Linked DNA regions of Homo sapiens: all the other regions are linked to region 1. The links are contacts of gene promoters, found by promoter capture Hi-C in blood cells and fetal thymus (Javierre and others, 2016). All regions are on one chromosome and are shown on one strand. Each heading gives the region's core, a stretch centred on a gene start or on the middle of the fragment in contact. The rest is flanking DNA. Distances are from core to core; before and after follow the strand shown. Region 1 holds the start of REG3G (regenerating family member 3 gamma). Region 2 has its middle 61 kb from the start of REG3A. Region 3 has its middle 42 kb from the start of REG3A.

What was found. Contacts are between HindIII fragments. The CHiCAGO score rates a contact against its expected background, and 5 or more counts as called.
Region 2: a contact is called between a fragment that was not itself captured here and the fragment with the promoter of REG3G in region 1, in 1 of 17 cell types (naive B cells). The highest score is 8.0, in naive B cells.
Region 3: a fragment that was not itself captured here is called in contact with the fragment with the promoter of REG3G in region 1 in 1 of 17 cell types (naive B cells); the score reaches 6.5 in naive B cells.

What each region holds. Positions count from the first base shown.
Region 1 is chr2:79,023,019-79,026,964 of GRCh38, reverse strand. It overlaps REG3G (regenerating family member 3 gamma), which reads right to left and starts at 1,263. Exons shown (of 6, transcript NM_001008387.3): 1 at 1,192-1,263; 2 at 796-982; 3 at 134-252. The coding sequence starts at 871. The HindIII fragment of the contact is 2,965 bases long and covers 1-1,812 here.
Region 2 is chr2:79,218,636-79,222,581 of GRCh38, reverse strand. It overlaps a transcript of CTNNA2 not described here. Among named protein-coding and RNA genes, the nearest start is that of REG3A, 61 kb to the right of the region's middle. The HindIII fragment of the contact is 1,093 bases long and covers 1,775-2,867 here.
Region 3 is chr2:79,200,146-79,204,091 of GRCh38, reverse strand. It overlaps a transcript of CTNNA2 not described here. Among named protein-coding and RNA genes, the nearest start is that of REG3A, 42 kb to the right of the region's middle. The HindIII fragment of the contact is 1,350 bases long and covers 1,195-2,544 here.

The sequences.
Region 1 (3,946 bases), core at 14-2,513:
GGGAGGAGGACTGTGTGAAAGATAAGCGTGTTCATCCTCATTCCCAAGGAACTCTCCTGAAGGAGACCCTCCTCCCCCTGAGACCTGCATGGACTTTCCCCTATCACCTCCAACCCCACATCTAACCACTCACATCTGCATCCATCCAGGATTTTGGTGACAAAAACAAGGCATAGCAGGGGGAGCCATAGGCCTTGGAGCCTTTGGGACAGCTGATCCGTGGAGAGGGCAGTTCCTTCTGGGTTTCTTCACCTGGGGTGGAAGAAAAGGGAGAGAGTAAAATGAAGAGTAGGGGGTGGGTGGGAGATGACCTTGGGGAATATCTAGGTCTGCCCTTGGGGAGGAAGACCACATTCCTGACAGCTCTTCATCTTCCCTTGTGTTTTCAGAAGTTCTTTATCTCAAAATAGCCCTACTAAATGGGCCACCATCTAGTCTGTTATTACCCTTTCCCCTTATTCAACCATTCAACACTCTCTTCACTGTGGGCTATCTCTATATTGGGTCCTCCAATCATTGTCCCTCCCCACATCTCATTGCTGACCCTCCACACTTTCCCACCAGTGTATATTAGAGTCCACTGACTAAATGGAAGCCATCTCATTCCATTGTTAGTGGACCACAGTGGAGCCTCCCACTGCAAGTTAACATGAAGGAAGGAGTGATGATGCAGGAACTGCAGGCAGTTTCATTAGACACCACGTCATTACCTCACGTGACACACAGGAGCCTTCCTCCTTTTCTTGGCTCTGAGGATTCATAGGGAACCCAGTGCTAGAGGCAGAGAAATCTCACCTTGAACCTGACACAGGAGAATGAGGCAGGAAAGCAGCATCCAGGACACACTGGGCAGGGCCATGGGAGGCAGCATAGTGTCTGCGACTTGAGGAGGCAATCGGGTCACTAAAGGAAGTGTGGTCAGCGGGAGGACACACAGATATCCTACTGCCTCTTGTCTTTTTCCTTCTGTAGTCCCCTAGGACTGAAGTGATCTTGGTCACATTCATCATCTTCTACAGTTCTGAATGAGCTGTGAATCTGTGTACTCACCCATCCCTGAGACCTCCCAGTACAGCCTTGCTGAGTCTCAGAGCTCCTGTGCTCCCTGAGGAAGGGACCCTCCCATGCGTTCTCCTGTATTATGTGAGGTTGCCCTTCCACAGGTCTCATCTTCTCTCAGCTCCCACTTACCTCTCTGGTGAGATCTGGTATGCTTTGTCTGGTCAGCAAAGACTGGGTTTTTTATAAAAAGATCTCAGGGATGGTCACTGGAGTGAATAACGGCAATATGTAGGCGGGACAGGGGTCATGGAGAGGGCTTGGCATTGGTTCAAAAAGATTATGCCAAGGGGAGGAGACTCTTCCTGGCAAAGGCTGGGAATTGTTACAGATGTTGCCTTTTTCTCTGTAGCAGGCCGGCACTTTCCCCACAAACAGTTGAAGTTTGCACTTTTCCCACCCTCTTCCAGATATCTTCTTCTGAGAAACTTAAGGGAATAAAGGCAGTCTTGTGAGCCTGGTATTATATAGTTTAGAAAATATTATGATATTACATAGTTATGAGAAATGTCAAAAGTTTGTTTTTGATCAACGTGCCAGGAGCTCACTTCTATAGGCATACATATGAATTCCTTTATACCTTATCTAGTAACATTTAAAATAAATTAATAAATAAAAATTGGGTGGGCATTAAAATTAGATGTGTTGGCAAAGACAATGTATTAGTCGAAATAAAGAAACAATAGAAACCAGAAGCAGCAGCACTGGTTCAGTGTTGCTACTTCAACTTCACAGCAAGATGTAAAAGAAGCTTGAAATAATCTTGTGAGTCATTAGGCAAGCCAGGGTCTTATGGAACAGCAGTTAAATAGATTTGCCTTCCAGCTACCTTTGTGTGAGAAGACCAAGAGATAGTTCCTTGGTTTATTGTAGTTCTGCGCTGACAGTTTGATATCTCAGAGTAGCGTTCTTAGATTGTGATCTACACACCAATGGGGGTCTTCAGGGCCTGTTTGGAGTGGTTGTGCAGTTATAATTTTCATAATTATACTAAAGTGTTATTCGTCATTTTCGCTATGTTGACATTTGCACTGATGAGGCAAAATAAATGGTGGATAGAAGTTCTGGTGCCTTAACATCAATCAAGGCAGTGGCACCAAATTGCATTGCTCATATCCACGCACTTGCAAGAAACAAAATAAAGCCATTTTTACTTGAAAATGCCCTTGAACTTGATGAATCAGGGTAGTGAATTGGCTTCAGTAAATCTCAACCCTTGAATACATCTAGAGGGAATATTCTGTATGACTAAATGGGAAGCTGACATGCTAAAGTATAATGGTTGTCTTGAGGGAAATAATTTGTAACACTGAGTTTTAGTTCACTATTTCATGGAACACCATTTTTACTTGAAAAATAAACCAAGACAAACTTCACTTACTGACATATGGGTCTTTTGTTAACATGTTTTCAAAAAAGTTCAAAGTGAGTTAGTAAATGAATATTTTTAACTTTTCTCTTTTACTATATATTATTATAAATATCAATAGCTCACATGAACAAAATTTTTTTTCGAGTGTCCTCAATATTTTTTAAGAGTGTTAAAGGGTCCTGAGATCAAAACAGTTTGAGATCTCTGGTTAACATCTAGCTGGCAATTTCCAGAAAATATAGGACATGGGGATGGTATTATATTACAACACAGGAATACCATCAGCAAAATTTAGAAGGTGGGAAATTCTACAGGACAAATAAGTACATTTCCCCAGCAAGTGAATTTAAGGAAATAAAACAACATCTCACTCTTAACATGTGAAAAATATATCAATCAAATAAAATGTGTGAACCATGTTTGGATCTTGATTTGAACAAATTAAATAAAAAATATAATTATAAAACAATTGGGTAAAAGTGAGCATTTGATAATGTTAAAGGACTATATCATGTTCAGATGTAATTATAATATTGAAATAATATTATTTAAAGTATCCTTATCATTTAAGATACATAACACAATATTTACAGATGAAATGGTTATTCAGAATTTACTTCAAAATAATCAAGCATGATAGAGATAAAGAAAGAGAGAGACAGATAAAACAAGAGAGGACTTGAGGTCATGAGAGTTGTTGCTTGGTGGTAGGTACATAATGATTCATAACACTATTGTCTTTGGGTTTTTATCTAAAATATTGGTGGAAAATTTTGAGAAAAAGAAAAATTCAGGGCCATCGTGAGAAAGAAATTTGAAGGACAATCTGACTCAAGAACACAGATGCAAAGTTCCTGAACAAAACACAAAACAAATTGAATTCATTGTTTTATATAATAAATGAAGAGAAAGAAGAGTTAATCTTGGAAATGTAATGATAGTTTATTATGATGAACTATTAATGCAATTTCCAAGTTCAGAAGTTAAAAGGGAAAAAAATATATAGTCATTTTAAAAGAACAAAATTGTTAAGTGAAATTCAAAACCTATTAGTAACTGATAAAAAGTCTTAAAAACCAGAGTTAGACAGGAATAGCTTTAACACAGTAAAGAAATCTATAGAGACTCAAAAGTAAACTACTGACAAGACTTCCTTAAAAAATCAGAAATATACAAATGTACCACCCTCATTGATTCTATTTAACAATATCGTGTGATAGAAAGTACACTTAGAAAAGAAAAAAAAATTTAAACAGGGAAAAAGTAAATTAAGTTGTCACTATTTGCATATGACATGCTGTCTCCATAGAAAACCCAGAAGACTCTTCAAATTAGTTGTTAGAATTAATGGATAAATTTAGTAAACAAGAAGAATGTGAGATCAACATATAAATCCCAAATGAACATTTGTATTCCAACAATAGAGTTAGAAAGGGTATTTTTAAGAAAGATACTGTTTTTAATAGGAAGAAAAATATAAAGGATCTAGAAATATATCCGACAAAAATAGTCAAG
Region 2 (3,946 bases), core at 1,072-3,571, 190 kb before region 1:
TATTGATCTATGTAATATTTTCCTGGTTAACTTCTCAGGTCCCCCACCTGTGCTATCAACAGAAGATCCAGTATCTGTAGAAAGCTGGATGGGTCAGCTCGCTCCTGCTCCTCACTGCCACGTGGCACCACTGCTGATATTGACACTGGCCCTGCACCACACAGCAGCAGCCCTGTGTACCCTGGGTAGAGCGCCTGTCTGAACCAGATTCCTGCAGAAGGATTCCTACAGAAGAAGGATGAACTCATTCCCTCAGTCAAGGGTCATAAACTGGCCACCTGTGTGCCAAATCTGACCCTCAGTAGTGGTTTATTTGACAACACACATTTCATGGCTAATATTAATGTCTGTGTTTTACACACAGCCTCATAGAAGCCTTTATATCGCCTGCCTGGTGTCTCGAGGCATTTGTGTTATAATCCTGGTCCTGGTGCTGGGTCTAATCAGAGAAGCAGCATGCTTTGACTCCCAATTACGGGGCTCTCTGAACACAGCCAGTTCTGAGAACTCTCTCCTGGAATGGGGCACCATTTCCATCTCTTCCCAGAGATCCATGCCAGGGGCTGGGCAGCTTTTTCATTTAATCTCTGGACACAGAAAAGGCCTCATTAAATCCTTTCTTTGAGTAGTAGTACTATATAGCCACACAGCCTATACCCTCTACACTTCTGAGAGCCGTTATCTTCCATGACCACAAGTGTCCTCAGGTACCCTCCTGGGCTGGTGGTAGAGAGGTTCTCACATTCAATGACTCAAATCAAAGTGAATTTCCTGGCACCTTTTCTCACTAGAGAAGATTATCTGTGACTGGGTTGCCTATAAGCCATATAGATACAAACTTTTATCTCTAATACCAAGTCTTAGAGGGATATATTAATAGATCTAATAAATTTATTCTTAGACTTATTGTTTCATGGGCTAGTGAGTCTTTGCTACTGGAGACAATACAGACTTGTCAGTTTTTTAAAAAAAAAAAATTTGCCAAGCTAGCACATTAAAAAGATCTCCTAAGGCTATCATTTTATGAGGATGATTATAAACATTTCTGTGATAAATATCACCATAATAAACTGTTAAGTACAACTGCAAGTATACCCTTAGAGTGAATTCCTACAGTTAGAAATTTATATTTTTGCCAGCTGCAGTGGCTCATGCCTGTAATCCCAGGACTTTGGGAAGTCGAGGAGGGAGGATTGAGGCCAGAAGTTTGAGACAAGTCTGGGAAACATAGCAAGGCTCCATCTCTGCAAAACAAAACAAAAATAATTTAGGAAGGCATGGAGGTACAGGTCTGTAGTTCCAGCTACTTGGCTGAGGCAGGAAGATCGCCAGAGCCCAGGAGCTTGAGGCTGCAGCAGTGAGCAGTGTTTGTGCCACTGCATTCCAGCCTGGGCAACACAGCAACACCTTGTGTCAAAACAACAACAAAAACAAAACAAATTTGAGATTTTTTTTAGCTTATTATTATTGCTGTAATAAAATTATTGAATTTGTTCCTTTATTTCGTAATTGACTTGCTTTCTAGAAATTTTATAAGATAATGTTTTTGCACTAGAAGTCACTGCTGAGTTAACAAAGTCTCCCAACACACTGAAGCAGCATTTTGAGAAACATGAGTTCAATCTCAATGTTTATTGCTTGTTTATTTCTCAGTATTTATTATTATCACCTAATCTATGATCCCTTCCGATTGAGAAAGATTAACAATGTGTGCAGAGTTGTACAAAGATAAATACATACCTGTTTATCTTTCCTACAGCTCTCAGGTGAAGCTTTAATTATTTGGTGAAACAGTTAAAAATTTGGCTAAGGTCATGCTAGAATATAACTTATTGATTTCTATGAGGGTGGATACTTTTTTTCAATTTCCCAGTTTCTATGAGGAGAGATTTTTCCCTAGACAATCTGGCCAACCTTTAAGGTTTTCTACCAAAGTAGAATACCTTGTCATGTAGAGAATGTACAATGCCCATCTGCTTACTCTAAACAATCTTGTATCGCCCTCCTTGCCTCCTCCATCTGGCCCTTCTCACTTGGGCCACCTGCCCACAACATGCACTCCTGTGGCCTGTCTCTGTGGCCTGTAATTCTTACAGGGACCCACCCCAGAGGAGGCCTGAGGCTTCCTGGAGCTGCTCGTTGAGGTGGTAGAAAGTCTACTTCTGGGATTCAGTGTTAGAATTTCTATCATTCCTGCACCACAAAGCCACACTTGTAAACAGTTCTGCCAGTAATAAAGTGGATGTTTTTGTCTTCATCTGCCTTCCACCATTAGCAATCTCTTAATTAGTTCCAAACTTAGTTGGAATAAGAGATCTTAATTTTCCCACCCTTTGAATCACTCAGAACTCATCTATTCAATATACATTTACATATATATACACACACACACACATATATATATACACACACACACATACATATATATACGGCCAATTTTGAGAATTGTGGGTTAGATTTGGGGGAAGCGCTGATTAAGAGTTGAATCAGTCAAAGAAAGTGCAAAATATACTAGAATTTACAACAAAACTCTAACAAAAATGCAGAGTGAATCTGCAGAGCAGGCAATATCAATAGACATATGTGAAGATGAATAGGAAAACTCCTAGGAGGATACGAGTATCTGTAGCACTTTAAAGCAAAGAGCGCTTTCGAATAGCAGAACAAAGGAAGAAAGGATGAATTTCAGGTGCCAAAAGGTCCTAGAGATTCTTGCTGTTCACGAAAGGGTCACCAAAAGGATGTCTCTATCCCAAATGGCAAAGACACACTTATTCTCAGAGTTAGCCCAGGCACTCACTGTTTCTCCTCTGCAAATTCATTTGCCCTGTTCCATGGTGTGTTTTAGCAACTGCAATCTTTAAGCTTGCAGATACTTTATATAAGCTACGAATTGAGCTTTTATGATCCACGAATATCATGGATTTACCACTTCCAGGGTGCTTGCAGGTGTAAATGCACTTTGGTTTCAATTTTCGAGGCCATATTCTAACAGGCCACAAGATGGCGGTATTCCTGCGTACAAGCAGATCCTTAAAGTGACCTTAACCTCACAAGTTTAACAAATAAAGTAGTCACTAGCCACATATGGCTATTTAAATTTAAATTTATTAAACTAAGGTAAAATAAAAAGAATTAATTCCTCAGTTGCACCAGCCACATATCAAGAACTCAATAGTCACATGAGGGCAGTGGCTACTCTATAGGACGGTGCGAAATAAAACATTTCCATTTTCACAAAGTTTTAAATTAGATTGTTTTCCCATTTAAAAAGAGTGGAGGCTTTAGAAAGTGCTGATTCTGATTCTTTCTATAATTTATAACACTGAACAAATGGAAACATTTAAATGTTCAGCAACAGAATATTGGTCATCTAAATTGTGATATAAATGATATAATGAAATATTACATAGCCATTAAGAATAATGTTTTCTTAGAATGTGAAGGATGCTCATGGTACAATTTTAGGGAAAAAATAGGAGGAAGTAAAGGCGTTTACATATGTATAAATACAAATATGAAATATATCATTCAAAATGTGGCAATTTTGTACTATACATACATACACACACCCTTGCATAGAAAGAAAGACATCATAATATTACCAGAGATTAACTATGAGTGGTAAAATTATGGAGGATTTTATTTTCCTTTTAGAACTTTCCTTTATTTTCCATTTTTCTCCCAAGATTAGAAAACAAGTATCAATCAAAAATTGCCATAAAAACAGTATAAGTTTTTGAACTTTAGCAAAAAGTTACACAATGTCTGAAAGATTCTGGTAATTCACTTTTTGAAAAACTTTAAAGCAGAATACACTCATAATTATGCATAATTATTATCACCAACGCAGTTTCCAAGATCCGTGATTTGTACCATGTTGCTCAGGCCTGCGATGGTGGTCTCTGATCCTCCCTATAGTGCTACAGTAGTTTAATACCTGAAC
Region 3 (3,946 bases), core at 620-3,119, 180 kb before region 1:
TATTATTACTTTAAATGCTGAAGCATTTCCTTAATAGGGAAGAAATTAAATGTCTTAACCCTTGGCTATTAATATCATCTGTTCCTACATTTAATGGGTTGAGATGAGTCACAGAGGATGAAAGACACTATAGCTAAGGATGTCAGCAGAGGTGACAGCCACTTCTACCTCAGGTGACCATGGGAAGCAACAGCTGGCATATTTTATACAATTCAGATGAGACAGGGAAGAACAAATGACACCTTTGGGCCTTCATTGGAAAAAAGTAGTCTAAAAGCATCAACTGCTATCCTTTGATGCTCAGATACTGCCTCCTAGTTAATGAAGGCAAAAGTATAATTTAAGAGCAGTGGTTAATGCTTTGACAAAGAAAAGGCGGCCCTGAAGACTTGATAACCTTTCGTTCTTGTCCCTGAAGAATTTTTGGATATGTTATGTGCAAAAAACATTTTTGCATTTGATTTAAAAACTATGCATTGTCTATCATACATGCTTCTGGGCAGTGGGTTCCAGAGCCTGTTCATTGTCTTTGAGCTATTTTGCACCTGTTTTTCAAATGCAGGTAACTGATGGATATGCAAACTGTGTCTTATCCAGCAGCATTTCCATTGGCTTCCCTCCCCACTGTGGAAAAAGTCTTTTTCCCTCCATTTGTAATTCGATTTCTTGACTCTATATGTTTGTGCTTTTTGACATTTACTTTGAACTAGTTCCTTTATATGAGTTAAATAAAATCTTTAACATATGTTTCATTTATATGAGTCATGATTTTGCCATTTTCTGAATATTATTTTCTAATGAATTTGGATCTGCGCTTAGTTTAAAATAATAACTGGAGTGAGATTTAAACAGTTCTTCATTAGAAATGAACAGGATTTTGGAGATTTGGGGACTGCCAACTTTCAAAGAGGAGAAAACATGCAACCCCAGAGCTGTGGGAAGCAATAGGAGAGTCCCAACAACTTGGCTACCTGTGGGGATGGGGAAGAAATGAGAGATGATGGAGGTGGCAGGGAAGGCGAGAGAAGAGAGTAGTAGTGAGGAAAATGGCAGGGAAGAAAGATAAGCTGTCAACTGAGAAATTCTACATGGAAGAAAGGAGTTAAAGAACTTTAAATCCATTCGGATCTACTGGTAAACTACATTGATCTCTGTTTACTATGCTTCAGGACCCTCTTCTTTCACCTCAAAGCTTTGTTAAAAGCAACTGCACCCACAGCTTTGAATTTGTGACCCTTTTGGGGATGAAATATGGAGATGCTATCTTTCATGGCTAGAGCCATGTGAGAACAATGGCTGGGCTTGTGGGAGAGAGATGCAGACTGTAGTAAAGACAAAACAAACAAACAAACAAACAAAGAAACGTAGAACCATAAGCCCTTCCACCCCCAAAATGTATGGAAACATTGAGGGAACTTCACCTAGTACAAGGGATGTAATATTGAGCTATTCTCTCATAGGATTAAAGAAAATGGTGACAGAAGCATTGAAGATGTGTTGATACCAAGGGAGCTGAAATTTAGGTTACAGGGGAAACGGAGTTAGGTTTCTGATATGGTGCATTCACGCAATCTTTCTTCTAAGAACAACTAAAATCTGCAACTGCCTGTAGTTCCAGATGTTTGGGAGGCTGAGGTGGAAGGATCACTTGAACTCAAGAATCCAAGGCTGCAGTGAGCTGTGATTGCACCACTTCAGTTCAGCCTGGGTGACAGAGTGAGACCCTGTCTCAAAAAAATAAAAAAAATAAAAAAAATAAAAAAACAAGTGTGTGGAAATTATCTTTTTTGAAATCTGACTGAGAGTACTGTGAAAGGAAAATAAATCTTGAGACTCCAAAATCACCAAGCTAAAGAAGAAAATCAAGCTGGGAACTGTTTAAGGTAAACCTGCTTCCCATTCTATTCAGTCATCCCTCTGAGGCTTACCTGAGACAAATGCATGTGTCATTGCTTCCTCTGCTAATCATTTATGTAAAAATGCAGATTCACTGAGCTGGAGTAAATTGTGTATTCAATGGAGGCTGATCAAGGACTCAAAAGATTACAATCATTTGTCTCTTATCTACTTCTAATCTGGAAGCTCCCACTTCAAGTTGTCCCATATTACCGGACTGAACTAGTGTACATCTCACACATATGGAATGATGTCTCATGTCTCCCTAAAACGTATAAAAGCAAACTGTACCACTGATCACCTTGGGTACATGTCTCAGGATTTCCTGAGGCTATGTCATGGGCATATCCTTAACATTGGCAAAATAAACACTATAAATTGACTGAGACCCATCTCATATATTTGGGGTTCACATTTTGCTAACCACGAAGGGATTCTGAGTGGAAGAGCTGCTGACCTTTGAGAAATCTCCTATTAGGGCTTGGTACCAGCTTGAGTTTCTTTATGGCTCAAACCAGTAGGACAATTTGCTGAGGCCTGGAAGCTCCCCCTCCAGAGAATCCCTGATCTCCCAAAATCTGGTCAATATTTAAAGATTATTTTGCTAGGAAAAATAATTTTTATTTCCAACTCTTGTTGGAAGAAGCTTTACTTCCTTCCAACAAGGAAGGCAAGCTTTCCTGCTTCCACGACAATGGAAGGCAGGTAACTTCTTTCTGGAATTCGAGCTCATTTCCAACAGGGAAGGAAGGTGAATTTGAGTTTTTTCCTGCTTCTAGGATGGTAGAGAGCAGTCTTCAGCCTGAGACCCATCCTCAGGTAAGTAGCTGAATTGGGGTTTTGTCTTGGCTAAAGTTAAGATGAACAACCAGCTGGTCTTAATTTCTCCTTACCATTAGAGTGCTCAGTAATTATATAAATTGTGTGATCATTTGTTTTGCTTAACTGTTTTTGTTGTTGTTTGTTTGTTTCTGTTTTTATTGTTTCAGTCTTTTTCCCATTGCATTTGACCAGCTCTATCTGACTTGACGAAATCTGAAGGAAAGTTCCAATTCAAGGGGAACAAAGCCTCTGATGTGGCTAAATTTCCACAAAAAAAGGGGGGGGGAAATGTTTTATTTTGATTACTTAAGGGGTTTTATTTACATAACAAGGCCATCTTTTTGCTAGCCAAGTCAAACTGAAAGAGCAATAGCTGTTGCCCCACATTGTAGTTTCATAGCTAAGGTTCTGACATCTGTTTTTTTTCTTCTTTACCACAATAGCCTGGGTTTGGTTTCTAAATCAAACCCTTTCAGATTTGATACTTATTACTTCCGAAATATTGGCAATTTGTCTTTGCTAAAATATGGTAATGAGATTTAAAAAGTTTTTTTTTTCAAGGAGCTCAATGGATTAGCTTAATGCAAATGTAACATCCAAGATGTGTGTGTATGTGTGCCTGTGTGTTTGTATTAAAAGGCCTTCATGGTTTGTTTTTGTTTTCTCCTGGGACCTTGCCTTTTTGAACAAGAGTTTTTGTTTGTTTGTTTGCTTTTTCCTCAATTGAATGAATTCTGTTTCCTTCATTTACTTCTGCTGTTTCTCCTTTCTCTTGTCACCCTCTGCTGTATAAGGAACCTAAAATAATTTATAATAGCCTGCAATTCCTTACAGAAAATGGAGAAGGTGCCAGACTCCGTTTTGCGGAGAAATCTCTGTTTTTCCTTATGGAACCCCAAAAGTGTAAATAGACAAGTTTGTTTCAGATCTTAAGTTGCTTGCTTTTGTATTGTGTTATCTGATTTTTTGTCTAATTTTTTTTTTTTTTTTGAGACGGAGTCTCTCTCTGTTGCCCAGGCTGCAGTGCAGTGGCGCAATCTCGGCTCACTGCAACCTCTTCCTTCCAGGTTCAAGCGATTCTCCTGCCTCAGCCTCCAGAGTAGCTGACGCTACAGGTGCCCGCCACCAAGCCCTGCTGACTTTTGTATTTTTAGTAGAGGTGGGGTTTCACCATATTGGCCAGGCTGGTCTCAAACTCCTGACCTCAAATGATCCACTCTCCTTGGCC